7 separate regions of the Homo sapiens genome follow, and all the other regions are linked to region 1. The links are contacts of gene promoters, found by promoter capture Hi-C in blood cells and fetal thymus (Javierre and others, 2016). All regions are on one chromosome and are shown on one strand. Each heading gives the region's core, a stretch centred on a gene start or on the middle of the fragment in contact. The rest is flanking DNA. Distances are from core to core; before and after follow the strand shown. Region 1 holds the start of RAMAC (RNA guanine-7 methyltransferase activating subunit). Region 2 overlaps CPEB1 (cytoplasmic polyadenylation element binding protein 1). Region 3 overlaps CPEB1 (cytoplasmic polyadenylation element binding protein 1). Region 4 overlaps CPEB1 (cytoplasmic polyadenylation element binding protein 1). Region 5 overlaps CPEB1 (cytoplasmic polyadenylation element binding protein 1). Region 6 overlaps AP3B2 (adaptor related protein complex 3 subunit beta 2). Region 7 overlaps AP3B2 (adaptor related protein complex 3 subunit beta 2).

Region 1 (2,902 bases), core at 199-2,698:
TCAAATCCAAGGAATGAGTTTTAAATAAATTCAGCTAATTAAAAATCATGTCTAGAATTCTAGTGGGATCACAGAAATCACTAAAAAGATGACCCATACCTAATCCAGATGGGCAGTAAAAATCATAAGGCAAGGAAAAGGTGCTACTCCATTTTTATGTTCTCATATGTTCTCCCACGACTCCCCACCCATACTCATGTAAACAAATATCAACTGTATTATTACTGAGAACGAAATTTAAATAGAATGTTAATCGACCCAAGCTTTACTTACCCCAAAGGTTTGAGGCAGCTGTACTGCTTAATGTTTAGGTTGTTTAAATCTGTGGGAGGAAAAAAACAAACTTGACTTTATTTAAGGAAACTCTCAAAAGGTGTTTGTAGGGGAGGGTGGCGCATAAGAGTCTTATTCAAGGAAAGAATTGGAGTAAAAGTGCTCTAAGGCCAGGCGCGGTGGCTCACCTCTGTAATCCCAACACTTTGGGAGGCCGAGGCGGGCAGATCACGAAGTCAAGAGATCGAGACCAGCCTGGCTAACACGGTGAAACCTCGTCTCTCCTAAAAATAGAAAAAATTAGCCAGGCGTGGTGGCATGTGCCTGTAGTCCCAGCTACTCGGGAGGCTGAGGCAGGAGAATCGCTTGAACTTGGGAGGCGGAGATCGCGCCACTGCACTCCAGCCTGGGCGACAGAGCGAGACTCCGTCTCAAAAAAAAAACAAAAAACAAACCAAAAAAACGCTCTAAAGACTTCCAAAGCTAATATTCCAAAGAGGGAACTGGTTCTCAAGAGCAAGAAGCTACAAGATTTGTCCTCTGGGCCTTCAAAAGCAAAATAGTTCAAGTATGAATACAAACTTCATAAAGTATGTATGTTCTTTTAGGGTAAGCCTTTCAGATTTGTACTTGAATACTGCTAATTTATTCACCACAAATAAAACCACAAAGAACTTTGGCTGCGGGCGACTAACCCTGGAAATAACCAACCAGAATGGGGTTTCGCTGCCCTGGGAGGTGAGCCCGGGGAACAGACGAAGATGCAGACTGAAAACAACTGCGTTTTCCAGTCCGTCCTCAAGGCACATCACAGCTTGCTTACCAAGGTTCTGGCAGATTTGCTCCCTTCCGAAGCACCTTATACCTCCAGAAGTGAGGGAAATTATGGGCCGTGAGAAGTAAACGGGCTTCGGTCTAGCAAAGAGTACAGATCACCGCACAGGGGGAGGACACCTCGCTGGCCACCCAGCTCGGCCGCCCCGCTCCCTCCTCCCGGGCGTCCGGGGCGACTCACCCGCCAAGGGCTATGTCAATCCAGCTCAGGCCGAACCCCGCCGGCGAGACACTGAGAAGCCCAGGAGAGGTGGCCTCTGGTCCACTACACCGTGGAACTCCAGACCACTCCAGTTCTCCAATGTAACCGAGCGCCTTCCTCTAAAATCCGACAACCACCTGACTTCCGCTTCCGGCGGGCTAAAGTTGAGGGTGCCTGTCAAGTCTCGCGATAACTAAGGCTCTCCGTGTGGATCGCTTTGCAACAGATCGCTTCTTCAAATGCTGGCACAACGCCCAGAGCTCGATGAGGTGTGGGCAAGTAGCTGTCTAAAGGTGGATGATGCCCTCCATGCACTTTCAGCCTGCCTGGTGGCTGGGCAGTCGAAAACGTCGCCGTCTATTAAGCTCCTTTGATTGGGAGCAGGTGACGGGTAGAGACGGAAGTTCTGGGAATCACCGGAGAAGGGAGGGAAGGGCTCCTTCCGGCCGCCTGCTCCCGGAGTCTTCGTGGGGAACGTGAGGTGAGAGCAGGCGGTGAAGAGTAGACACGACTGATGACTTCAGGGATGCTACACCTTTCTCTCCTGCCTGGGCAAGCCTCGGTAGTAAGATTTCCGTAGTCCGTTTTGTATGTGGTTTTGCAGAAACATACCCCCTCTCTGCTCCAGCTTCAGTCGTCAGTATCCAGCTACTTCCAAGAGTCTTGCCCATGTCTTGTGGGATGTTCAGCAAATGTATAAACACTTAATATCCCGACAAAGCTTGGCCTCTTCCCTCCCAAATTACTTCCCAGGCTATGCACCCGTTTTTGTTAATACAACCAACTTGGAAACTTTGATGTCAGATTTGATGCCCTTTCTTGCCTTTCCATGCTCCAATCACTTGCCAAGTCCTGTCGATTGTACCCCTACAGTAATTCTTGCATCTTCTTACCCACTGCCCCCACCTAATCAACGTTCTCATTACCATCCCCTGCACGGTGTCAGTGCAGTACCTTTCTCATTGATGTCCTGCCTCTAGCATCACTCTGCTACTAGCCTATCTTACATATACCTGCTATAGGTGTAGCCATCTTCAAGCACCACCGTGATCCAAAATAGCTGATCCAATGGCTCTCTGTTGCCTGTAGATTAAAGGTCAAGTTTATTAACTTGGATTCAAAACTTTTTTTATTTTCTGCTGTTCCCCTTCCATTCTCCCTCAGTCAGTGGTAAACCAGACCCTGTGAAGTACGTCATGCATAAATTATTACATTTTTATAGATTGCTCATGTCCCTTGCATGAAATACCTGTCTCTCCCCCTCATCTCCAAATGTTGAAATTCTTTCCATTATTTAAAGCTTTAGAAAGTGACATCTCTACCTAGAAATAATTTTTCTTTCTATTGAGAGTCCATCATATTTCTGGAATTTCATGTATTTAGTTATTACCACTTTCTAACTTCGAACTAAAATTATTTACTTGCAAGTCTTTCCCCCTATTAAACTGTAAACAGGCCTTTATCTAATGCATTTCTACATTCTGGAGTGTATAACATTGTGCTTTTTTTGTTTGTTTGTTTGTTTGTTTCTTTGACACAGGGTCTCATTCTGTTGCCCAGGCTGGAGTGCAGTGACGTGGTCATGGCATACTG
Region 2 (2,902 bases), core at 116-2,615, 420 kb after region 1:
TCAGGGCCTTGGCCGTTATTGGAGATTGACTCTAGGACTTCTCACCACCCCTCCCCCTCCTCTAATCCATCTAGGTTAATACTTGACATTTGGAATTATGAAGTTGTGTGCCCCATGATGGGGAGTGGACTTTGAGATGAGACACTGGCCTGCATTATAAGGGACCTGTCATTTCCACTGGATTTTAGTTTGTGTGGCTTAAAGAGAATGCCTTTCCAGTTAGGTATGCTCGTGGCTTTGAATATAAATGGGAACAGTCTAACGCTAGCTATTTTGCTCCTTTCCTTCTGATTCCCAGCTGGTGGAAATCGGTGCTGCGTACTCAGCAACCTTACATAGGGCAGGTATGGTCTCATGAGCTGGGAGCAAGACAGGTTTTCTTTCTTGAAATGAGGTCCCCCCACTTCCCTTTGTCTTTGCTGCTTTGCTGCTTTCTTTCCATTGTCTTTGCTGCTTTCCTTCCTTTGATCTGTAGACACTCAGAGAACTGCCTGGCCAGACCCTATAGAGGTACAATTAGGTCACTCTAGGGCATCTGACCATGGGTGGCAGTTTCCACAAAATTCACTTGTTCTGTGGGTTGAAGGAAATATCAAACCAGCTGGCAAGTTCTAGGCCTCTTGTCTTCTTGGTATCTTCTAGTCAAATTTACAGTATATCCCTTCTGATTTAATATTTGCAGGAAACTGATGCATGGAGATGCTGACATCCCACGTGTTAATTCTGGGGCACCCTGATCCTATTCTCTAGGATGGCATTGCCCCTTTCTGAGCCATCAATCCAAGTCCTTTCCCCGTTTTTCTATGTGGTTGGTATATAATTCAGTGAGACACTCTTTCTTGCTCCTGTACTTGAATGTAGGAGTGTATTGCAGTGGCCCTGAAGATCCCAGTAGAGTCTGGGGAGGGTTGATTAGGACAGAGTGATTTCCACCCTGCCCCTCCTCAAGCAGAGGAGCTTTCTTCAACCTTTTTCTCTTTGAAGAAATTGAGACTCAGGGAAGAAGTATTGTCGCAGATGTGATGCGGTGAGTCACTGGTTTTTAAACCTCTGTTTTGGCGATGGGCTGGGTAGGGATGAGTTAAGGTTTATTCCCCTAAATCTGTATTACACTCTAAGTCAACATTGTGTCCTTAGGCTGGGCGCAGTGGCTCACGCCTGTAATTCCAGCCCTTTGGGAGGCTGAGGCGGGTGGATCACAAGGTCAGGAGATCAAGACCATCCTGGCTAACACGGTGAAACCCCATCTCTGCTAAAAACACACACACACACAAAATTAGCCGGGTGTGGTGGCAGGTGCCTGTAGTCCCAGCTACTCGGGAGGCTGAGGCAGGAGAATGGCGTGAACCCGGGAGGCAGAGCTTGCAGTGAGCTGAGATCACGCCACCGCACTCCAGCCTGGGCAACAGAGCGAGACTCCGTCTCAAAAAAAAACAAAACAAAAAAACAAAAAAAACCATTGTGTCCTTAAATTGAATATCCTTGATAGAAAAGGGTAGGGCCTTAGCGTACTGGCTCTATGGAATACGTACTCTCTGTCTTTCAGTAGAATTCAGCAGTCATTGTTCACCTGCTTTTTGCCAGATGTTGAGCTAATTGCTATTGGAGTAGGATGGTAAAGATTGGTCTTGGTATGCTTGGTTGAGAAGGCACAACTTTTTACACATGTGGGCCTGCAAATATCTATGCAGATTTTTTTGAGACTTTAAAAAGCATGTTTAAAAGATTATTTCTTCTAATAGAGACTCCAAAAGTACTCAATTACTGTCTTATCCTCTGGGATCCTAGTTCCTATTACTTGTGCTTGATTTCCCTCTGCTGATTAGATAAGTTACCTTGAAAGAGGCAAAGAAAGCCAAATGGGAATTGACTTGTTTTTCTTCCTGTCATTAAAAAAAAATGGAAATAATTTCAAATTTATAGAAGTTATACAAATAAAATTATACAAAGAATATTTGTAATCCTTTTTATCCAGAACCTCCTATTGTTCGTGTTCATTTTACCCCATTTGCTTTATCATTTGCACATTCTCTCTCCATGTATCAATACATAATTGTTTTCTGAATCATTAAGAGGAGAGATAATTGGCCCAGGCACGGAGGCTCACACCTGTGACCTGAGTACTTTGGGAGGCTGAGGCAGGAGGATTGCTTGAGCCCAGGAGTTCAAGACCAGCCTGGGCAACAGAGTGAGATCCTGCCTCTACCAAAAAAAAAAAAAAAAAATTAGTCAGACATGGTGGCATGCCGCTAGCTACTTTGGAGGCTGAAGTGGGAGGTTGAGACTGCAGTGAGCTGTAATTGTGCACCTGCGCTCTAGCCTGGGTTACAGAGGGAGACCCTTGCTCAAAAAAAAAAAAAAAAAAAAAAAAGAATAGAGATGATCTTACATACATTCATATGTAACAAAACAGTTAACTTTAGTCAATTTAAAGTTGATAACACTACTTTGATTAAACTGTCATTCATATTCCAGTTTTGTCAAGTGACCCAGTAATGTCCTTAAATCCTTAATAACATTTTTCTCTTTCTGCTCTAAGTAGGCCCTTGCTCCTTTTGGTTTTGCTCCGTGTGAGCTTACAAAGTCCCTTGGGTTGTCTTGAATGTTTTTCACAGTGATCAGCTTGTTCTAGCCATCACTTTTCCTGAAACTATGATAATCCTTACCATTCTTTTTTTATATTCTTATTTGTTCATGGTTACTGTGTCTGTCTTGCCTCTCTGTGTTGTCCTCCACTCCCACCCAGTGTTTTCAGAGAGAAGGAACTCTTAAGTAAATGTCCTATATAGCCTTGTTGATTTCTTTATCTGATGCCTTTTTTTTCTCTTAAGTATTTACCATTTTAGTGTGAGAACTGTATTTAAATTATAACCTCCAGTCTTTTTTTTTTTTTTGAGACAGG
Region 3 (2,902 bases), core at 278-2,777, 400 kb after region 1:
TTTTTAGTAGAGATGGGGTTTCACCATGTTGGCCAGGCTGGTCTTGAACTCCTGACCTCAAGTGATCCACCTACCTTTGCCTCCCAAAGTGCTGGGATTACAGGTGTGAGCCACCGCACCCAGCCTGCATTATGGGATTCTTAACCTGGGTACATGGATAGAATTCAGGGGGTCCAATAATTTAGACAGGTAAAAACTTGTATCTTCACGTTCAGTGATGTTTAACTGAAACGTAGCTTTTTTTTTTTTTTTTTTTTTTTTTGAGACGGAGTCTCGCTGTGTCACCCAGGCTGGAGTGCAGTGGTGCGATCTCCACTCACTGCAAGCTCTGCCTGCCGGGTTCATGCCATTCTCCTGCCTCAGCTTCCTGAGTAGCTGGGACTGCAGGCGCCCACCGCCATGCCTGGCTAATTTTTTGTATTTTTAATAGAGACTGGGTTTCACATTGTTAGCCAGGATGGTTTCTGTCTCCTGACCTTGTGATCCACCTGCCTCGACCTCCCAAAGTGCTGGGATTACAGGTGTGAGCCACCAAGCCCAGCTGCATTTCTTTTAACTGTAAGTTTAGGCAACAAGTCACAATATTAGCAGGACCTAATAATTTGGTATCAATAGGATGATCAGACAATTCATATTGATTCCTTTACAGGCATTGTACATACCTTGACATTTATTTACTATTTCAATATTATTACTATTTTATATGTTTTGAAACATTTTTCTTAGAAGGTTTATTGGTTTTAGCAGACTGCCAAATGGTTCATGATACAAAAAAGGTTAACCTCTGGCATTCAGTTTTCGTATTTTGGAGTTTGTTTAAATAGGTGCCTATTTTATACACTTATAAGAAGTACCTGAAGTTAAAGCTTTTGCCTGCATCTGTGATTATTTGGACATAGGATAAATTTCTAAAAGTAGTATTTCTTTATCAAAGAATAAATCTTTTGAAGCTTTCAATGTTTTTGTCAGATTGCTCTCCAGAATGTTGTACCAATTTACCCTCTATATGGAAATACCCTGCCTTCCTGTTTTAAATAACTGGCTTTTATATTATGTAGATGCAGTCGTGATTGGCACTGTAAAGGGTCTCCAATTTGATGTACTGTTTAAGGAACTTCTGCAGACCCCAATTTGAACAGTGTAGTGTCAGGTAAAGTAATGTTTCATTGTGTTTTGGTTATACTAGTTTTACTAAAACTAGTTGTTACCTACAACCTAGATGGCATGTTGTATTCAAGGACTCTGAACCAGAGTCTTCAGGATGGCGTGCTTCAGAACTCCCCCATACCATAAGCAGTAGATTGGATGATGCTAGCCTTGAATCAGCAGTCGTCTTTTTTGCTCTCCATGGGTAAGAAGTAAAATTATCGCCTTTGAAAATAATATATGCACATAGCAGCGAAATCTTAGAAACACCCGAATGTGAAATTGACTTTCTGCTGAATAAGTAGCAGATTGTGGAGAGAGTAGTGGGGAGGGTGAGGGAGTTAGTGTTAAGAATTAAACTCCTACAGCACTTTGGGAGGCTGAGGCGGGCGGATCACAAGGTCAGGAGATCAAGACCATCCTGGTTAACATGATGAAACCCCATCTCTACTAAAAATACAAAAAATTAGCTGTCGTGGTGGCCAGTGTCTGTTGTCCGAGCTACTCAGGGAGGCTGAGGCAGGAGAATGGCGTGAACCCGGGAGGCGGAGCTTGCGGTGAGTCCAGATCACGCCACTGCACTCCAGCCGGGGCAACAGAGTGAGACTGTGTCTCAAAAAAAAAAAAAAAAAAAAAAGAACTCCTAGTATGATGGGATAGGTTTAGTACACAGTATGGGGACCTGAGTGCAGAAAAGGGATCCTTTGCTAACTTAATGATAAAACAGGTCTGAGTAGGGTTATTATGTATGAGTGTAGACCTGGGTCTAGAAAGTGTCCCATTGTGGGAGAGAGGTCAGGGGATCAGTTAGTCCCTGTATTTGAGACCAACAAATCGAGATTTGGATCTTCTGCCTTTTAGTAGCTTTGTCGCTTATGGCCATCTCTGAGCCTTGTGTGCTTTCTAGTAAAAAAAGACGGGATGGCGAGGAATTTGACAAGGTGGTCTTTAAGCTTCTTTCCTGCTTTCTTTTGTGGCTGACTTTCTTAGCTGGTGCCAGGATATTAAGGGCTTTTGTCCCAGAGATTTTTATCCTGCATGCAGTAGTTACTTGTTTGGTCTATCCTTGCTAAAGGGCCTGAATTACGCAGAACACTCCCGTTTGTAAAAAATCAAACACCAAATTAGAACTTACTTTAGTAAAATGTGGGGTATGTTGGAACGCTGTTGATACAAAGCTCATAGAATAGGAAGGAATCACTGGAAAGCTAGGGATACTGAATCTGTGGCCTCCAATTTTGTCTATTTCTGTCTTTCCTCTGCTCATTTCCCAGTGTGAGTTTCATTATCTCCTTTTGCAGAGTTGCCAGTTATGAGAAAGGGTATATGCTCACATCCTTTGGCATCATGGACAATCAGGAAATAGTTCTTTTTCCATTATATACAGTTAGAAAAATCTCAAGGAAAGATACCCAGCTAGCTTGGCTTAAGTCATACCCATACCTGGACTGGTCTCTGTAGTCATGGGAATGGGTAATTCTTGCCCAGCTTGAGTCAGATACTTACCTATGGGACCATCACTGTAACCAGTGAGGTAGAATGCTGCAAGAAGATGCCATTGTCTTTAGGACCACTTGGATGGCAATTCAACAAAAGCAATTCAACAAAAACCTGGTGTCGGGGAGATTTTTAAAAACATTGGGGATTCATGAATTAGGCAACAGCAATCTTCAAACATTTGGGTACAACCTAATTTTTAAAAAAAATGTACACCGCAATGAGATACCAGTTTACACTTGTTAGGATGGCCATTATT
Region 4 (2,902 bases), core at 282-2,781, 360 kb after region 1:
TATAGATGGAGAATGCTTCCAAGAAAGAAGACAAGGTTGAACCCCTGGTTAGACAGCTGACTTGCTGTCTATCCCTGACTGAATAGAAATTAATGAAGAAGAGATGTGGGCTGGGTGCAGTGACTCATGCCTGTAGTAATCTCAGCACTTTGGGAGGCCGAGGTGGGCAGATCACTTGAGGTCAGGAGTTTGAGACCAGCCTGACCAACATGGCGAAACCTTGTCTCTATTAAAAATAGAAAAATTAACCGGGCATGATGGTGCGTGCCTGTAGTCCGGGAGGCTGAGGCAGGAGAATTGCTTGAACCGGGGAGTCGGAGGTTGCAGTGAGCCGAGGTTGCACTCTGTATTCCAGCCTGGGTGATAGAGTGCGACTCTGGAGAGAGATGTGGCGGGGCAGGGAAAGAGTAGCTGGAGCATCTGAATTCCCCGTTTATATACAAGAAAGTTATGACTTGCTGTGGTTTAAGAGGGTTTTGCAAAGGCCTGAGCTTTTGGGCTAGTACCCCACCAAGAAGGCCCTTGTTGCATGATGGGTGGTAGGAGCTAGGGTGGGGCTGGAAGGTCAGGCCAGAGCTGGATTTCCTACCCCAACAACTGTCTAGTGGAGATGACAGGGATGTCTGCCACCTAGAGGGCCCTCTCCACATTCCCTAGTCCTTTAAGCCATAGACCTTTTGGAATCTGTGAGGAATGGAGAAAATGGGCTGCAAATGGACATGTGATTTAAGCATTAATGTGTTGAGTTGTTAGTAACGGTGTCTGTAAAGATGTGAAAAGTGGTGAAACATCATTAAGGGATGTCTTAACTGCTATATGGGTAGGGAGACTTAATATTTAGGATGGAGGCAATGATTGGAGGAGCAGTTTCATATTAATTCACTGAGATGCCATTTCTCAATAATCAGTTAAAATAGCTTGGAGGTTTAGAAAGGAATTGACTAGCCAAAGCAGTCCTAAGTAAGGTTTAGCACTGATATGTTTATTTAACAGTTTTTAAAAACTGAAATATAATACACATACAGGAAAGTACATGCTGTATCATAGGCGAAGAGCTCCAACTTTCCCAAACTGAACACAACCATGTAACCAGCTCTCAGACCTAAATAGACTGCTGACTTTTAATGTAGGACCAAAGAATTGTATAGTTGTAGCCTGATGTTAGATTTTTTTTTTTTTTTTCTGAGATGGAGTTTCACTCTTGTTTCCCAGGCTGGAGTGCAATGGCGGGATCTTGGCTCACCGCAACCTCTGCCCGGGTTCAAGTGAGTCTCCTGCCTCAGCCTCCTGAGTAGCTGGTATTACAGGCATGTGCCACCACCCCTGGCTAATTTTGTATTTTTAGTAGAGACGGGGTTTCTCCATATTGGTCAGGCTGGTCTTGAACTCCTGGCCTCAGGTGATCCGCCTGCCTCGGCCTCCCAAAGTGCTGGGATTACAGGCGTGAGCCACTGCACCTGGCCTGGATTTTTTTTTTTTTTTTAAGAGACATGGTGTCACTGTGTTGCCCAGGCTGGTCTCAGACTCCTGGCCTCAAGCCATCCTCCTGCCTCAGCCTCCCAAGTTGCTGGGATTACTGGCATGACTAATGTTGAATTTTTGACTGAGATGGTTTCACTTCTTATTGTACTGGATCATAAACCGTATCGTCACTAAATTGTCTGAAAAGCTATTCCAAAACAAAGTTTAATACATTCAGTCCCATCTTGCAGGAAATGATTGAAATTACTCTCATGAAGTCTTGTTTCCCACAAAATAAACTTTTATGGAACCTTACTGTGTGGCTTTAACAGTTAAGTGGCAACGATTTAACTTGTGTTGTTGAAGTTAACTTACAGAAAAGTATGAGTGTACTATTCACTGAATTTTTATATACTGAACACATCTTGTATAACTAGTCACATGTAGAGGCAAAAATTAAGAATACACCAAAATTCCCCTTGCAGTCCTTTCAGTCTCTAGTTTACAAAGGGCACTTGTTATGCTAAATTTTTATTTTTCTGAGATGGGGTATCACTGTCACCCAGGCTGCAGCACAGTTGTATGATCATAGCTCACTGCAGCCTTGAACTCCTGGGCTCAAGTGATCCTCTTGCCTCAGCCTTCTGAGTAGATGGGACTGCAATCATGCGCCACCATGCCCAACTAATTTTTTTTTTTAAGTTTTTGTAGAGACAGAATCTTGCTGTGTTGACCAGGCTGGTCTTGGACTCTTGGGCTTAAGCAAATTCCTTGCCTTGGCTTCCGAAAGTGTTGGGATTATAGGCATGAGCCACCACACCCAGTTCATGCTGACTTTTAATTGCATAGATAAATTGTACCTGATTTTGAATTTACATAAATGGAATCACAGATATGTACACTTTTTTTTTCTTTTTGAGACAGAGTCTTGCTCTGTCGCCCAGACTACAGTGCAGTGGTGTGATCTTGGCTCCCTGCATCCTCCGCCTCCCAGGTTCAAGGGATTCTTCTCCCTCAGCCTCCCAAGTAGCTGGGACTACAGGCACATGCCACCACACCCGGCTAATTTTTGTATTTTTAGTAGAGACATAGTAGAGACATACTGGCCATATTCACCATATTGGCAAGGCTGGTCTCAAACTCCTGACCTCGTGATCCGCCTGCCTTGGCTTCCCAAAGTGCTGAGATTATAGGGGTGAGCAACCACACCCGGCCCAGATATGTACTCTTTAGCTGTGAGTTTCATCCATGTTGCAACTGGTTGTGGGTCATTGATTCCTGTTGCTTTACAGTATTCCATTGTATGAATGTACCAGTGCTTATTCATTATACTGTTAATAGGCATTTGAGTTGTTTCCAGTTTGGGGCCATTGCGAATAGTGCTGCTATTATCTTTTGGTGAATTAATTTCCCTTGGTTATCTTCCTAGGAGAGGGATTGT
Region 5 (2,902 bases), core at 246-2,745, 350 kb after region 1:
ATGTAAGAATTTTGCTTCTCTTGTTTGAATTAAGACCCAGAAGCACTGATTGCACCCTTTACCGTTTCTTAAGCCTTTTAAGATTTTATTATTAAGGTTTTTTTTGAGACAAGGTCTCACTGTGTCACCCAGGCTGGCGGGCAGTGGTGCAATCACAGCTTACTGCAGCCTCAAAGCTCCCTGGCTTAAGGGATCCTTCAGCCTCAGCCTCCGAAGTAGCTAGGACTACAGCCATTCAACATGTTTGGCTACTTTTTAAAAAATTTTTTCTTTGAGATGGGGTTTCACTATGTTGGCCAGGCTTATCCTCGGCTCAAGCCATCCTCCTGCCTCAGCCTCCCAGAGTATTGGGATTACAGGTATGAGCCACCATGCAGGCTCTTAAAGCTTTTTGGTCACCATGAACTTTGCTTCCTTTGCACCCAACATTGCAGTTTTGGAAATGCCCTTAGTTTTTTCCTGCCGTTGTTGCAGCCTGCTTTAGAGCGTCTCATCTTCTGTGAGCACAGATTCCGTAGAAAGTTTTTATGTTGAAGATAGGACCTGCCCCAACAGTGCATTTCTCAATTATAGTAAACTAGCTGAAAAAGATTGAACTAAAACATGTATGATGTAATATTTCATATTTTCATAGGAAAATTATCTGACTTGCTGTAAAAAGTTAGTATCCAAATTTCAGAGTGCTAAATTCACATTGTAGATGTAATTTCCAATGAATTTTATTAGGTGTCATTTTAAAGCCCAATGTTAGGGATTATTTTGCCACCCTAATATATAATGTGGTTTTGATTAACTTGGACCTGGGAGGATTCCTGACTGACTGGGGTTGAGCTTTACTTTCAGTAGTTCAGGAGAACACTTAGGCATGGATAACCTTTGAATTCTTTTTTTTTTTTTTTGTATTCTTGAATGGTGGAACAGTCCTTTTAAATTATAGTGAGTTAACACTCTTTGTTTTGATTTATTTAAGGCATTCGTGATGAGTTCCCCTGAGGTAACAGGAGAATCCCCAGAGGGCAGGTCTAAAGGTTGGTTTGTATGCTAAAAACGGGTCTTGGTTGCAAGTAGCTATTGATTTTAGGAGTAACTTGACTAAGAGTGTTACTTGTTTCTTTATTCTTGGCCAGCATAATATGCTGCTTTATGTACCATCCTGACAGATTTAGCCCCACTTCCTACAATCCCCTTTGATAAAAGTGTGGGAGTAGCTCTCCTCTGTTGGAAGAGAACAGTTACTGTGAAGGGCAGGTTGGTTTTTTTGTGTCTTTTTACAGAACACTTAATCTCTTACTACTTAACACCTGTGCTCTCTGCATTCTGGCTTTGTGCTCCTGGGTTCTGGCCCTGACACCATCTGTCTGTCTCCCATGTGTCTGCCCTTTCTCCTGAGGCTTTTTGTTTTTGTTTTTGTTTTTTTTTAAAGCTGTAATCTTGGAATTGTTGTGAAGCTCAAAAGGTGTTAGAGACCTGTCTCCTACATATAACTTGGAGTTGACACCAAAGCCAGATATAATCTCTGACATCCTCTTTTCATGGACTAGGAGAATTAAGTTTAGAATGGAAAGTGATTACCCTAATTTTATACTGTGAGCAGGGAATAGAGACAGAACTTGAACCCACGTTTTCTCATTTCTAGACTAGTACTATTTGTAAAATTCATACACTCTTACCTCTGCTGTGTTGGTCTCTTATTGTACTTGAAATGTCCATTTGGTTTGTAAGACTATGGCTTCCTTTTTTTTTTTTTTCCTTATCTGATCAATCTTGTCTTGTCTTGGTACTTGCAGGCTTCCTTTTCTCCCCAAATGCCGCATTCTTCACAGTTCAACCCTGTTGGATCATTCCTGTCTCCTTATATATACAGGAGACCCATGTGTTCCTATAGAAGCACCAGTTGACTGTTGTGTGCCCAAGTTTTAGATTGAGCTCTTTAGCCTTGGTTGTTCTGAAGACTTATACTTCTGATTGGACTACCGAATGCGTGTATCTATCTGAGGTATGTTAAACCCAGCAGATATAAAAACAGAACCAATTTCTTCCTTTTCCTCATCAGAAATAACATCAGAAGTAGGCAGGTAAAAGATTTAAAGGTTATTGCCAAAACAGGCATAGTGTAGGGAGTGGGAAGGACATTCTAGGCAAAAGGAACAACATGTATAAGGACAAGGAGATATGAAACAGGGCTGTTTTTAGGCAACTAGAAGTACAGTATTGCTAGAATTTTAAGCGCAAGGGGTACTAGCTTATGACCTGGTAGTCCACTTGTGTTCCTATGTGCAAGAGAAATGAGCACATATGAGTATAAAAAGGCATGCACAAGAATATTCACAGCAGTTTTATTCATAATATTCAAAATCTGAAGAAAAAGCAAGCTAGTTGTGGCACCTGTAGTACCAGCTACCGGGGAGGCTGAGGCAGGAGAATCCCTTGAGCCTAGGAGTTCAATTCTGGTCTGGACCACATATCCAGACCCTGTCCCTAAAAATAGGACAAAACAACAAACGCCTGTTATGTCTGGTCCCCCAAGACAGTGCCTAAATTAGATGATTGACTAGGAAGATTCACAGGAGTCAGCATATAGTGGTTCTCATAGCTAAGCTTACAGCTAAAGGATATGGAGAAAAACCATCAAAGGGAAAAGGCACGTGGGGTGAAATCTGGTACAAGCTTCCAATGTTCTTTTCCCGGGAGAGTTAAACAGGACATAGTTTAATTCCCCTACAACTGACAACATATGTAAAATGTTGCCAGCCAGAATAGCTTGTTAGAATCTGGGCACCCAGAGAGAGAGAGAGAGAGAGAGTGTTTGCGCGTGTGTGTCTGAGGACTGGTTGAATAGGTAGCCTCTGCCTGAAATGTACCAAAATTTCAGACTCCAGGAGGAAAGCCGATGTTCAGCATA
Region 6 (2,902 bases), core at 230-2,729, 310 kb after region 1:
GGGCCACAGAGCAAGATCCATCTCAAAAATAAATAAAAATTAAAAAGAATTTCCTCCAAATTTTTTTCTACTTTCACATTTTTAAATCAATTGTATTAGTTTTCTGCTACATAATAAATTACTATAAATTTGGTGGCTTCAAACAACACACGTTTATTTTCTCAGTGTCTATGGGTCGAGAATTCAGGTATGGCTTAGTTGGATCTTATGCAAGGCTACAACTGAGGTGTCAGCCAAGGCTGAGTTTTTATCTGGAGGCTGTACTGGGGAAAGGTCCACTTCCAAGTCACATGGTGCCACGATCCACTTCCTTGCAGTTGTAGGATTGTGGCCCTGGCTTCTTGCTGGCTGTCAGCTGGGGGCTGCCCTTGCCTTCTAGAGGCCGTCCTTAGCTCATTGCCATAGGGGCCTCCCAACACGGATGCTTAATTTCTCCAAAGCCACAAGGGAGAAAGTCTCTAGAGCCAGTCTGCTAGCAAGACCGTCTTCTTTTTATTTTTTAATTTTTATGGGTACATAGTAGGTGTATATATTTATGGGGTATGTGAGATATTTTGATACAGGCATATAATGCATAACAATCACATCAGGGAATGGGGTATCCATCCTCTCAAGCATTTATCTTTTGTGTTACAAACAATCAAATTACACTCTCTTAGTTATTTATAAATGTATAATAAATTATTGTTGACTGTAGTCACCCTGTTGTGCTGTCAAATACTAGATCTTACACATTCTATCTAACTATAATTTTGTACCCATTAACTATCCCCACTTCCCCCACCCACTACCCTTCTCAGCCTCTGGTAACCATTATTCTACTCTCCAACTCCATGAGCTCAATTCTTTTAATTTTTAGCCCTCACAAATAAGTGAGAACATGTGAAGTTTGTTTTTCTGTGCTTGGCTTATTTCACTTAAAATAATGACCTCTAGTTCTATCCATGTTGTTGCAAATGACAGGATCTCATTCTTTTTTATTCTTTTTTTATAGTACTGCATTGTGCATATGTACCGTATTTTCTTTATCTATTTGTCTGTTGATAGACACTTAAGTTGCTTTCAAATCTTGGCTATGGTGAACAGTGCTGCAATAAACGTAGGTGTGCAGATATAACTTCAATATGTTGATTTCCTTACTTTTGGGTATATACATAGCATTGGGATTGCTGGATCATATGGTAGCACTATTTTTAGTTTTTGTTTGTTTGTTTGAGATGGAGTCTTGCACTGTCACCCAGGCTGGAGTGCAATGGCATGATCTCAGCTCACTGCAACCTCCGCCTCCCAGGTTCAAACGATTCTCCTGCCTCAGCCTCCTGAGTAGCTGGGATTACAGGCGCCCGCCACCAAGTCTGGCTAATTTTCATATTTTTAGTAGAGATGGGGTTTCACCATGTTGGCCAGGCTGGTCTTGAACTCCTGGCCGCAAGTGATCTGCCCGACTCGGCCTCCCAAAGTGCTGGGATTACAGGCGTGAGCCACTGCACCTGGCCTATTTGTAGTGTTTTTTTTTGAGATGGTGTTTCACTCTTTTTTCCCAGGCTGGAGTGCAATGGCGTGATCTTGCCTCACTGCAACCTCTGCCTCCTGGGTGCAAGTGATTCTTCTTCTGCCTCAGCCTCCCAAGTAGCTGAGATTACAGGTGCCTGCCACCACGCCTAGCTAATTTTTTGTATTTTTAGTAGAGACAGGGTTTCACCATGTTGGCCAGGATGGTCTTGATCTCTTGACCTCGCGATCCACCCACCTCGGCCTCCCAAAGTGCTGGGATTACAGGTGTGAGCCACCGTGCCCGGCCTATGTTTAGTTTTTTAAGGAACCTCCAAACTGTTCTCCAGACATTTCCACTAACAGTGTACAAGGGTTGCCTTTTCTCCATGTTCTTGTCAGCATTTGTTATTGCCTATCTTTTGGATATAAGCCTACTTGGGGTGAGATGATATATCTTTTTTTGTTTTGTTTTGTTTTTTGAGACGGAGTCTTGCTCTGTCACCCAGGCTGGAGTGTGCAGTGGTGCGATCTTGGCTCACTGCAACCTCTGCCTCTGTGGTTCAAGTGATTCTCCTGCCTCAGCCTCCTGAGTAGCTGGGACTACAGGCGTGCGTCACCACGCCCCGTTAATTTCTGTACTTTTAGTAAAGATGGGGTTTCGCTGTGTTGGTCAGGCTGGTCTCAACTCCTGATCTCAGGTGATCCGCCTGCCTCAGCCTCCCAAAGTACTGGGATTACAGGCATGAGCCACCCGTGCCTGGCCTTTCATTGTAGTTTTGATTTGCATTTCTCTGATGCTCAATGATGTTGATCACCTTTTCATATACGTGTTTGCTATCTGTATGTCTTCTTTTGAGAAATGTCTATTCAGCTCTTTTGCCCATTTTTAAATTGGATTATTGAATTTTTTTTTCCTATTGAGTTATTTGATCTCCTTACGTATTCTGGTTATTAATCCCTTGTCAGATGGGTAGTTTGCAAATTTTTTCCTCCTATTCTGTGGCTTGTCTCTTTGTTGATTCCTTTGCTGTGCAGAACCTTTGTAACTTGATGTGATCCCATTTGTCTACTTTTGCTTTGGTTGCCCGTGCTTGTGGGGTATCACTCAAGAAATCTTTGCCCAGTACAATGTCCTGGAGAATTTCTCTAATGTTTTCTTTTATTAGTTTCATAGTTTGAAGTGTTAGATTTAAGTTTTTAATCCACTATGATTTGATTTTTGCATATGGTGAGAGATAGGGGTCTGGTTTTATTGTTCTGCATGTGGATATCCCGTTTTCCCAGCGCCATTTATTGAAGAGACTCTCCTTTCCCTAATGTATGTTCTTGATACCTTTGTCAAAAATGAATTCACGGCCAGGCGTGGTGGCTCATGCCTGTAATCCCAGCATCTTGGGAGGCCGAGGCT
Region 7 (2,902 bases), core at 143-2,642, 300 kb after region 1:
GTGCAGCACACCAACATGGCACATGTATACATATGTAACAAAGCTGCACGTTGTGCACATGTACCCTAGAACTTAAAAGTATAATTAAAAAAAAAAAGTTTAGTAATTGAAAAAAAAAAGTACAACAATTGGGTTGGTTGGAACAGCAGAAATGAATTGTCTCACAGCTCTGGAGGCCAAAAGTCTGAACTCAAGGTGTCGGCAGGACCATGCTCCCTCTGAAACCCATAGGGAAATCCTTCTTTGCCCCTTCTAGCTTCTGGTTGTTTGCTGGCAGTCTCTGGCATTCCCTGGCTTGTAGACGCATCTTTCCAATCGTCTGCCTTCACATGGTAGTCTCCCTGTGTCTGTCTCTTTAAGTGGCTGTCTTTTGTTTTTTGTGTTTTTTTAATTTCAATTTAATCTATTTTTTGTAGACACATTGTTTCACCATGTTGCCAGGCTGGTCTCGAACTCCAGGGCTCAAGTGATCCTCCCGTCTCAGCTTCCCAAAGTGCTGGGATTACAGGCGTGAGCCGCCACACCCAGCCCACATGGCTGTCTTCTTATGGGAAACCAGACATGGGATTAGAGACCCACTCTATTAGAGTAGGATTGCATTTAACTAATTACATCTGCAACAACTCTATTTCCAAATAAGGTTACATTCTGAGGTACTAGGGGTTAAGACTTAAATATATCCTTTTTAGGAAGGACACAGTTCAACCCACAATATTAGCTGGCCACATGTTTCCCCTGATCTGTACTTTACTTGTTCCCCCTGGCTCTGGTCCCTCCTCGGGTCAGGTCCTGCCTGAGCCTCCCCTGGCCATGTCCCTTCTTTGTGCCTGGACCCTCCTGATTAATACCCCATCCCCACCCTTGTGCCCTCAGCTGACTTCTTGTACCTCCCACCAGGCATGATGACCTGAAGGAGATGCTGGACACCAACAAGGATTCTCTCAAGCTGGAGGCCATGAAGAGGATTGTGGCGGTAAGAGGGGAAGGAGGAGGCCTCCCTCCGGGCGGGGCCTGGGTGGCCAAGAGCAGCTCTCCTTAGCTCCTTGTAGACCTTCCCTCTAGTTAGTGCTGTGCCTCTCGCTTTGTCCCTCTTCCCCTACCTTGACCCCACCACCCAGATGATTGCCCGAGGAAAGAATGCTTCAGACCTGTTTCCCGCGGTGGTGAAGAACGTGGCCTGTAAGAACATAGAGGTGAGCACTACCTGGTGAGGGATTGCTTGTCCCCACCTCCCCCAGGACCACACTCAAGCTTGGGGTGAGGAAGGAAATGATTTAGCCCCTGGGGGCCCGACCTGCTGAGAAATGTCTCTGAGCCAGGAGAAGACACTGTCTCCATGTCCCTGAACTGGATGTGGATCAAGGTAAAGGACCCGGATACACTCAGGGGTGCTCTCCCCCACTGGGAGAGTTTGTCCCCATGGACCGCAGCTGGCTGGGGAGATGACATCCCAGGGGTAGGGGGGTGGGCACAGGTGCCTGCTGAGAAGCGTTCTGCTGAGAAACGTGCTCTCCCCAAGGTGAAGAAGCTTGTCTATGTGTACCTGGTACGCTACGCTGAGGAGCAGCAAGACCTGGCCCTGCTGTCCATCTCCACCTTCCAACGTGGCCTAAAGGTCAGGGGTCTCAGTTTGCCTCCCAGGGCCTGGGCCTCGTTGGCGCTGTATCGGAGGAGTAGGCCTGGGGAGAGGCCATGAGCATGGGAGCGGGCTCTGCAGACCCCTTCCTACCTGCCTAAAATTGGGAGGGTCACAGTCAGAAGAGGCCAGCCAGACCCTCAGAGAGTGGAAGCTGGGCTCAGAAGGGGCGTAAGAGATGAAGTGGGTACCCAGGGCCCCTGTCTCTCTTCCCAGGAGCCTGTGGTAATGGCTGCTTCTAGTATGAACCACTTGAGCCCCCGGAGAGTGGAGAGTCTCTAGCAATGGAGAACCCCTCAACCCTCACCCCCCTTTGTGTAAAGGTGTGAATTGTGGTCCACAGCCAGGTAGATTTCAACCTTTAGCAGTGGCCTGAATCCCCCACACCATTCTCACCTTTTGTTTCATTTTGCCCAAGGCCTCTAGTTGGATTTACATATGTTAGGTGCATGTATAAGTCTCCCCCCTAAGGGCTTTTCTGGTTAGTCTAAGACATCTTGAGGGTAAAGACAGCCATTTCAAGGCCATTCTCTCCATATTGGATTTTTCAGCTCTGATTACAACCATTAACTCCTCTATTTTTGCATACCTTTATTTATTTATTTATTTATGAGACAGGTTCTCACTGTGTTGCCCAGGCTGGAGTGCAGTGGTGCAATCATGGCTCACTGGAGCCTCGACTTCCCTGAGCTCAGGTGATTCTCCCACCTCTGTCTCCTGAGTAGCTGCGACTACTCAGCCTGCATCACCATGCTCGGCTAATTTTTTTGTAGTTTTTGTAGAGATGGGGTTTCACCCTGTTGCCTATGCTGGTCTTGGACTCCTGGGCTCAAGTGGCCTCAGCTTCCCAAAGTGCTGGGATTACAGGGATGAGCTAATACTCCTAGCCTGGATACTTTTAGTTCAAATTTCTGTGAGAGAGATTGTGAAAGGTCCAGCTCATCTTTTCATATCCAGAAGTTCTGTAGGTTGCTGGGTAGACAGGATTGCTGCTCAAATCCAGGGCCCACCCCTTGTCCAATCTGCTATGGCCAGCAAGAGGGGTTGACAGTCGGCTTCTTTGGGGTGAGAGTAGAAAGCATGGTCACTTGAATATACAATTCATTCATTTAGTAAATACTTGGGTGTCTCTATGCCACACATTGTGCTAGATTTCTTTTTATAAGTCAAAACCATGGAATCCGTCTTAGATTGGCAAGTAATCTTTTGGTTTGAGTAAGGGTTAAGTATAAAAACTAATCTGAAATTGTTGTACAGATTTTCACC

The links. The method cuts DNA at HindIII sites, captures the fragments that hold promoters and counts their contacts. A CHiCAGO score of 5 or more calls a contact.
Region 2: a contact is called between a fragment that was not itself captured here and the fragment with the promoter of RAMAC in region 1, in 7 of 17 cell types (activated CD4 T cells, naive CD8 T cells, M0 macrophages and 4 more). The highest score is 9.8, in activated CD4 T cells.
Region 3: a contact is called between a fragment that was not itself captured here and the fragment with the promoter of RAMAC in region 1, in 6 of 17 cell types (total CD4 T cells, activated CD4 T cells, M0 macrophages and 3 more). The highest score is 6.8, in total CD4 T cells.
Region 4: a fragment that was not itself captured here is called in contact with the fragment with the promoter of RAMAC in region 1 in 2 of 17 cell types (naive CD8 T cells and non-activated CD4 T cells); the score reaches 7.0 in naive CD8 T cells.
Region 5: a fragment that was not itself captured here is called in contact with the fragment with the promoter of RAMAC in region 1 in 5 of 17 cell types (erythroblasts, total CD8 T cells, activated CD4 T cells and 2 more); the score reaches 9.7 in erythroblasts.
Region 6: a fragment that was not itself captured here is called in contact with the fragment with the promoter of RAMAC in region 1 in 8 of 17 cell types (naive CD8 T cells, non-activated CD4 T cells, total CD4 T cells and 5 more); the score reaches 9.6 in naive CD8 T cells.
Region 7: a contact is called between a fragment that was not itself captured here and the fragment with the promoter of RAMAC in region 1, in 7 of 17 cell types (naive CD8 T cells, total CD4 T cells, non-activated CD4 T cells and 4 more). The highest score is 8.7, in naive CD8 T cells.

The regions. Positions count from the first base shown.
Region 1 is chr15:82,984,756-82,987,657 of GRCh38, reverse strand. It overlaps RAMAC (RNA guanine-7 methyltransferase activating subunit), which reads right to left and starts at 1,448. Exons shown (of 4, transcript NM_031452.4): 1 at 1,289-1,448; 2 at 274-322. It also overlaps a transcript of HOMER2 not described here. The HindIII fragment of the contact is 1,767 bases long and covers 266-2,032 here.
Region 2 is chr15:82,562,827-82,565,728 of GRCh38, reverse strand. The region is part of intron 4 of CPEB1 (cytoplasmic polyadenylation element binding protein 1); the gene reads left to right. Among named protein-coding and RNA genes, the nearest start is that of RPS17, 24 kb to the right of the region's middle. The HindIII fragment of the contact is 4,848 bases long and covers 1-2,902 here.
Region 3 is chr15:82,581,619-82,584,520 of GRCh38, reverse strand. All of the region lies in intron 3 of CPEB1 (cytoplasmic polyadenylation element binding protein 1), which reads left to right. Among named protein-coding and RNA genes, the nearest start is that of RPS17, 43 kb to the right of the region's middle. The HindIII fragment of the contact is 1,149 bases long and covers 953-2,101 here.
Region 4 is chr15:82,619,901-82,622,802 of GRCh38, reverse strand. The region is part of intron 3 of CPEB1 (cytoplasmic polyadenylation element binding protein 1); the gene reads left to right. Among named protein-coding and RNA genes, the nearest start is that of CPEB1, 26 kb to the left of the region's middle. The HindIII fragment of the contact is 6,371 bases long and covers 1-2,902 here.
Region 5 is chr15:82,639,751-82,642,652 of GRCh38, reverse strand. All of the region lies in intron 1 of CPEB1 (cytoplasmic polyadenylation element binding protein 1), which reads left to right. Among named protein-coding and RNA genes, the nearest start is that of CPEB1, 6.2 kb to the left of the region's middle. The HindIII fragment of the contact is 2,211 bases long and covers 390-2,600 here.
Region 6 is chr15:82,670,356-82,673,257 of GRCh38, reverse strand. The region is part of intron 14 of AP3B2 (adaptor related protein complex 3 subunit beta 2); the gene reads left to right. The region is part of intron 3 of CPEB1-AS1 (CPEB1 antisense RNA 1); the gene reads right to left. Among named protein-coding and RNA genes, the nearest start is that of CPEB1-AS1, 24 kb to the right of the region's middle. The HindIII fragment of the contact is 8,602 bases long and covers 1-2,902 here.
Region 7 is chr15:82,687,449-82,690,350 of GRCh38, reverse strand. It overlaps AP3B2 (adaptor related protein complex 3 subunit beta 2), which reads left to right. Exons shown (of 27, transcript NM_001278512.2): 2 at 898-973; 3 at 1,119-1,193; 4 at 1,520-1,615. The region is part of intron 3 of CPEB1-AS1 (CPEB1 antisense RNA 1); the gene reads right to left. Among named protein-coding and RNA genes, the nearest start is that of AP3B2, 21 kb to the left of the region's middle. The HindIII fragment of the contact is 277 bases long and covers 1,254-1,530 here.